Regions from separate parts of the Homo sapiens genome. Here region 1 is linked to region 2. The links are contacts of gene promoters, found by promoter capture Hi-C in blood cells and fetal thymus (Javierre and others, 2016). All regions are on one chromosome and are shown on one strand. The core of a region is centred on a gene start or on the middle of the fragment in contact, and the rest is flanking DNA. Distances in the headings are between cores, read along the strand shown. Region 1 overlaps SLC25A32 (solute carrier family 25 member 32). Region 2 holds the start of FZD6 (frizzled class receptor 6).

Region 1 (3,697 bases), core at 1,172-3,671, 100 kb before region 2:
TTGACTTACATACACTTTAAAACAGACTTAATGACACCTATTCAAATTAAACTGCTCACATTTAATTCTTTTAGTTACAATGCCATCAAGTCATATAAAACAGAAGGAAGAGCTGAACGTTTAGAGGCAACAGAATACCTTGTCTCAGCTGCTGAAGCTGGTAAGGCAATGTGTGAAATATAAAAATGTCACCTTCCAAACTTAATTTTCAGTTTTGGTTTTTGATTTCTTTTCTTTGAACACCTGAGTTTAAATATGCCCATCTAACTGTATTAAATCAGTTACATGGAATTTCTGTTTTTTTTGTTTGTTTGTTTTTCGGTTTTTGGTTTTTTTTTTTGAGGCGGAGTTTCGCTCTTGTCGCCCAGGCTGGAGTGCGGTGGCGCTATCTCGGCTCACTGCAACCTCTGCCTTCGGGTTTCAAGCGATAATCCTGCCTCAGCCTCCTGAGTAGCTGGGACTACAGACACGTGCCACCACGCCCAGCTAATTTTTTGTATTTTTAGTAGAGATGGGGTTTCACCATGTTGGCCAGAATTGTCTCGATCTCTTGACCTCTTGATCCACCTGCCTCTGCCTCCCAAAGTGCTGGGATTACAGGCATGAGCCACCACGCCTGGCTGTTATATGGAATTTCTTAGCAGAAATTATTATGATTACTCTGTGCAGATTTCAAGAATTTTACTCATGACAAAGTGGTAAAGTTTAGAAAAGTTATGAATCCCTAATGGTTTAAAATGATTTGGTATAGTGTTTCTTTAAAGTATAATTTTAATTTTCAAATTATACAATTTAGTAGCCTTGTTTAATCGCCTCACTTATGTATACTATCCAGAAGGAAAAAACAGTAAGAGCCGTAAGTCTTTGTAACTCCTACTTTAATACCTTGATTTCTTAATGTTGATTAGTCAAAACCTAACTTAATCATTTTTGAACACATAGCCACTAGCAAAAACCTGAGTCATAACAGGACCAAATATTTGTTGAATAAAGGACTACTTAGGAAACCTGGCAAATGAGAAACTTAACCAGATGAATTTTTTAATAAAATTGTCACTCTATAAAGGATGTAAAATGTGACTTACTGTATTACATAATTATTTAATTTTTGAGGGGTAGTAGTTACTTTGGATTTGAGGAAGATTGTGATAAAGTTGGGGTAGATATATGTGTCACATGCACAGATTATTGGGGTGCCAGATTCCTGGTTCTTTTCGCCTATCTTCAACCCCTCTGGGATTATACCATGTGCTACACCTAAGGTCTGTATCTGCTTACCATCTGTTCTCTGCACCAGGCCACGTTGTTTAGGAGTCAAGACATTTTTGCTATCCTTACACTTCAAAGAGAAAGCATTTCACATTTCCATCTCCCTTTTAATTTACCTCTAGCTAACTGCATGAGGAACTTTTTATGACTACCAAAAACAATGTCTACCTTTTGACCCTAAGACTGTGCCTCAGAAACTACATTTCACAGTTTCAGATATGGTCCTGTGCATTATCTTTTTTTTTTTTTTTTTTTTTACATAAATGTACTGTTTCTAATTTGGGTTGTCATAAGTGCGAAAGTATCTGTATGCTGAATAATCTTATTGAAATCTCATTTTAGGAGCCATGACCCTCTGCATTACAAACCCATTATGGGTAACAAAAACTCGCCTTATGTTACAGTATGATGCTGTTGTTAACTCCCCACACCGACAATATAAAGGAATGTTTGATACACTTGTGAAAATATATAAGTATGAAGGTGTGCGTGGATTATATAAGGTAACAAATTATCAATATATTTTAAATAACTGAAAAATTTGAATTTCCGTTGGCTCTGTTGTCTTAGTTCTGAATGACCTATAGTAAGTCCTAAAAAGAAGCCACACTTAGGCAAAAAACAATTTAATGAAAACTGAAATATAGTTAATAATACTGAAATTGTACTTTAAGCTGTTTGTCCCCATTAACATAGGATGTATCATCATGACATTGGTGGGCATGAGATCTGTCTAAAACTTTGTCAAGTTTCTATTTGATAAGTTATACAACCAGGTCACTTATTCCTTACTCCATTCCTTGGAAGCTGTGGTCTCTTGGGGACCTGGGATAATGTAGTCTGGAGAAGACATTAGCAGTTCTAACAGGATCTTATTTTATTGAGTTTTTTTATTCATCTCAAATCTTACATAAATTTAAAAATAACGAAACAAATCAAACCCAGCCTTTTGCCTGTTGTAATATTTTAAAAATTTTTTTCCTAGTGTCAGATCTGTTTTCTGATTTTATAACTCCTTTTTATTTTCCCCTTTTCTGCCTTCTATTCCCATCTATTGCTTATCCCCATAAAGAAATTTTTAGGCATACATAGGTTAAAATCAAAATTAGACACATTGAATTTCAGTTTGTTTTTCAAGAATTGAGTAATAGCTTTTAAAATCATTTTAAGGCTGATATGATTTTACTGACCTATAAGCAAGAATTTTATAAATATATTATTTTTATGTTTTTTCGTCACTTTCTGCCTTATTCTTTCAGAATACCTATGCTCAGTTCATTGATTTACCATTACCTTTAGTTTCTTAACTTTCCAGAATTTAGTTTCCCACTCACACCTCAAGTCTTGACAGTGTGGGTCTTCTTTATATGTATACTGTTTAAAGAAAAACTAATATGTGAACATCCAAACCTTTAAAAATAAAGTAGAAGAGAATACTACCCATGTCTTTATATTACAAGTTTTTAACCCCATATTTTAAAAATGTGATTTGTGCAAAATTAAATGAATTTGCTTAAAGTGCTGTAATGAGAGAGAAGAGAAAGTATTTTACTTAAATATATTGTTCTTCAAACGTATGTTGTTTTGCTTTTTAAAAATCATTCCCTTGTAGGGATTTGTTCCTGGGCTGTTTGGAACATCGCATGGTGCCCTTCAGTTTATGGCATATGAATTGCTGAAGTTGAAGTACAACCAGCATATCAATAGATTACCAGAAGCCCAGTTGGTAAGATTATTCTTGTAAAAATGATATCATTTCCTTTTATGGGTATTTAATAGGTAGAAATTTTTGTCATGCTTACTTTGGTGGTAGTGCTATGATGATGAGTACTGGCTCTGCCACTGATTTAATTTATAGTTAAATATTTATAGGCTGAAGCCACACAAATGTCAAAAATAGAATCCCTTAAAGATCCATTTAAATGTTTTTTGTATATAATTTTTACTTCTGTATTTTTAAAGAAATCCTGTCTAAAGAAAAAACTGTTTTGTATTGCCATTTTAGAGCACAGTAGAATATATATCTGTTGCAGCACTATCCAAAATATTTGCTGTCGCAGCAACATACCCATATCAAGTCGTAAGAGCTCGTCTTCAGGATCAACACATGTTTTACAGTGGTGTAATAGATGTAATCACAAAGACATGGAGGTGAGAGCACGTGCTATATCAAAAATTGCTTTGACAAGGTACCTTGCATATCTTAGACCATCCTGTTGATACTAGTTTTATAGCAAAGGCCAGTTTGCTGTGGTGAAAACATGATTGGTGGTCCCTGCTTTCCCAGTTATTACGTATGTGACCATGGCCTTAATCTCTCTGAGACTTAATTTCTTCATTTGTAAAGTAAGACTTTCTAACTAATAGGTTGTTATAAGAATCAAATTAAATGTGTGAAAATGTTTTGGAAAATAAAATTTAGGTGTTA
Region 2 (3,421 bases), core at 922-3,421:
TATTCTGTTTTTCTGGAGAAAAACTACAAAAACAATGCATGTGTCTAGTTTCCTTCAGGAGACTTAACAACCTAACAAATCTGTATGGGAAGGCAGGTTCCTGTCTGTACAGGTAGCTTTCTTCTCACACTCCCTAGTAATTTGCATATCTCTAAACCAGAGACAGGTAACTAAGGCACCTAAGGCAATCTTTAGTGTCACTGTACTCCTCCCAAGTGGTTTCTTTTAACAAGTATCTTATAAAGAACATATAAGTGCTATGCTTAGAAAACAAAGTCACTTTTTAGTGACTTTGTGATAGCCTTAAAATACAGTCTACAGCAACAAAATATTCTGATAATTTATTTATTTCAGAAAAACTGTACCAAGTGAATATTACAACTACTTATAAAAACTTGTAAATTTCTTCAGTTTTAGTCCAGGCAATAAATATTACATGTTCAGTGAAGTAGAAAAATATTCAGAATTCGCATTTCTAGAAGAACTATCATACTTGATTCAGGAAAGCAAAATATTTTCTAGGTACAAGGTATTTAGAAATCATGTGTAACCATACTTCATTATATAAAATGAACCCTATTCAAACGAATCTACTAAACAGGGCCGCAAAGGTACACAAAACATAAGTCAGTAGAGGGATTTAATTTTCAAAAGGACTTTTCAAAACACAACTTGTACACAACTTGAAGAAATCGGCTCTGTTTAAAAATAGACTTATTTTTACTAGTTTATTCTAGAACAGAGCATAAACTACTATTCAATAAACGTATGAAGCACTACTCACCTCCATTTCCACCGCGGCAATACTCTGGTCATAATGACCCATCAGATTAGGGAAAAACGTCATGTTGTAGGCCATTTTCATACATCTGGGAACAGTAATTGGTTCACAGGTGAAGAGACTGTGCCCTCTTAGGAGGGGTAGAAAAATACACGTCAACAAAAATGTAAACATTTCCATTTTCTTCAAATTCCTGATTTTACCACATGGCTTGGATGAATCACTCTTTGCATCCTCAGAAGATCCCCATCCAAAGATAAAATGTTCAAATTCCTCATTTCACTATTTTACTCATTTTCAGGCTTTCCTGAAAATGAGTCCTGGGTCAATTACTGTAAAAACAAAAGGAGGGTGTATCAGCAACATTTGTCATAAACTCAAATGTGGAGTCAAAGTGCAGAGTTAAGATTTTCACCCCAGGTAACAAACACTGGAAAAACAACGGAAAATTCTGTCCTAACGAGATACTCTTCCACCTGCCTTAGCATGGAATATATCATTTGCTAAGGAAGCTGCACCTCTAGGAAACCGATGCTAGGAGGTTGGTGCTGTATGGAAGACAGGGTTAAAAAGAGGGAATGGCAAGAGTAAGATGGAGGAAAAAAGGAAAGCTGGTGATTCGGAGTAAATTATAAAGGATTAATATAAGCATACAATCTAAGGGCCCCTGTTGGAAAGCTTATTAAGTACAAGAAAACTAAGGCCCTGGGAAATTCCTTAAGACCCAAAGAGTTCTTAAACTTGTAAAAGACTCTGAAGAGTCAGTTTTTGTGGCAGTCTTCTGGGTATGTAGTTTTCTCGATTTTCGTAAGGCCAACTAGAGGGAGACTTTTAGGATTCCTCCAGTGGAGGAGCAACATTGCAGTTTTCACTGGCTAGGAGGGTGTAGTGCTGCCGTCGAAAGGAAAGTGCGCAAATCTGTCCCGGGGGAAGGGCGAAGGCAGTCCCCTTGCGGGAGGAAGGCTGTAGGCCCCGGATTACGAATTACCCGCGCCCCAACACACACTGATGCCCGGTCCGCCAGCGCCCCACACCCGGGAACCTGCCCCAGGCCTAGAGCCAGACAGCAGCGTTCCTGGCCTGCGCGGCGCCGCGGGGCCCCGGCATCGCCTTTCAGAGCCGGTTCCCGCTTCCGAGGAAACTCAGGTGCGGGCCGTCCCGCCGTTGCCTCCCCAGCACCTGCGGCTCCCGGCGCGCCTCATCCCAGCCGCGGCCCCTCGCCCCTCGAGGCCCTCCCCGCTTCCCCCGGCACCCGCCCGGCCCCTGCCCAGTCCCAGCCGTGGAAGCCTCACCTCGGGGGGCGGTCGAAGGCCGCTGTCCCTTCCCGTCCCCGTCTAACCCACCGTTCCCCCCAGGGACCTGAGACGGCTCCGGGGTTGCGTCCGGGACTGGAGCTGCCTCGAGAGCCGCACGGGGAGCGAGAGCTGAGCGATCCCGCGAGACTGCGCCGCCAGGTCGGGCGGGCAGGTCCGGGCTCGCGGCGGCGGCGGCGGCGGCGGCGGCGGCGGCGGCGGGACTGGCCCTGCGCCCGGGCACCGCCTGCGCTGCGCCGCCCGGCCTCACTCCGCGGCCCGCCAGGACCCGGCCCCGGTGAACGGGCTCGGGGTGCCGAGGTCCGGCTGCGGGGCCGGGAAGCCACCTCCACCTTGCCGTCTGTTACGACCCCCGAGGCGCAAGGCTGAGCCCCATCTCGCTATCCGGGTCCGGAGGGGTTCACCTTAGAAGGATTTTTTGAAGCTCTTGGCGCTGGCTCTAAAAGAACCCACTTCCTTGCGGATTTCAGGAGTCAAGAATCCTTAAACGGAGCCAATTTGCTTTGTAAAGCCAATTGCCCAAGTGACTTGAGTTCGAAAGGAGATACTTCCTGGACAACTGCTATAAAAACAACAACAAATACTTTTATTAATTCGGGGAGCCTGGTCACCAACTGGATGCTCAGGTAGCAGTGGGATTCCAGCCCTGGCGGGTCCCACAGTTTTATTGATACAAACCCTAATAGGAAGTTGAACTGCTGTAGAAATCAACCTAGTTTGGGGTACCAACTCTGTCATAGATATTAGATAAATTACCCTAATCTTTAAGGGGCATAGTTTCCTCACAATATAGGAATGACAATAGTTGTAATGATGGTTAACGTTAATTGAGCACTGGCTGTAAGTCAAATAGTGCCAAGTTCGTTACAAGTGTTTACACCTAACCTGTAAGGCCCTCCTATGAAACAGGCAGAATAGTATGAGAAGCAAATGAACTTGTAGAAGTACTTTGAAAAATGCAAAGTAACTTGTAGATGGAGGCTATTCTTGTCAGATAAATCATCCTGTTGCAGAAAAGGAATGTCATATTTCCATACCTAGAAGGACAACCCTGAACAACCAGAGTAAGAGTTTTGGAATCTGTGGGGAAAGACGAATTTGGAGTGGGGAATTCCTCCCCAGTTTTATCAAAAGCTTACTGATGTTGGGAGACAGGTAGTGATGAAGAAATATTAACATCATTAAGAGCTGGATAGTTGATGTATTGCAGAATAAATTTCTATGTAGGAAGAATATTTTCCCCTAAATTTCTAATTTTCTACATTGGAAGACTATTTCTCTCCAGTTTCTACGAACTTAATGAGATCTTTTTGTGATCAGGCTCTAG

The links. Contacts are between HindIII fragments. The CHiCAGO score rates a contact against its expected background, and 5 or more counts as called.
Region 1: a fragment that was not itself captured here is called in contact with the fragment with the promoter of FZD6 in region 2 in 1 of 17 cell types (activated CD4 T cells); the score reaches 6.6 in activated CD4 T cells.

Annotation. Positions count from the first base shown.
Region 1 is chr8:103,401,239-103,404,935 of GRCh38, reverse strand. SLC25A32 (solute carrier family 25 member 32) reads left to right here. Exons shown (of 7, transcript NM_030780.5): 3 at 75-160; 4 at 1,612-1,772; 5 at 2,882-2,995; 6 at 3,275-3,420. Among named protein-coding and RNA genes, the nearest start is that of SLC25A32, 12 kb to the left of the region's middle. The HindIII fragment of the contact is 7,767 bases long and covers 1-3,697 here.
Region 2 is chr8:103,297,648-103,301,068 of GRCh38, reverse strand. It overlaps FZD6 (frizzled class receptor 6), which reads right to left and starts at 2,171. Exons shown (of 7, transcript NM_003506.4): 1 at 2,074-2,171; 2 at 785-1,113. The coding sequence starts at 961. It overlaps LOC105369147 (a long non-coding RNA gene), which reads left to right and starts at 2,251. Exons shown (of 2, transcript NR_148216.1): 1 at 2,251-2,720. RefSeq lists enhancers at 1,691-1,740, 1,594-2,094, 2,095-2,595 and silencers at 1,734-2,028, 1,891-2,140, 2,261-2,430, 2,441-2,490. The HindIII fragment of the contact is 1,769 bases long and covers 1,462-3,230 here.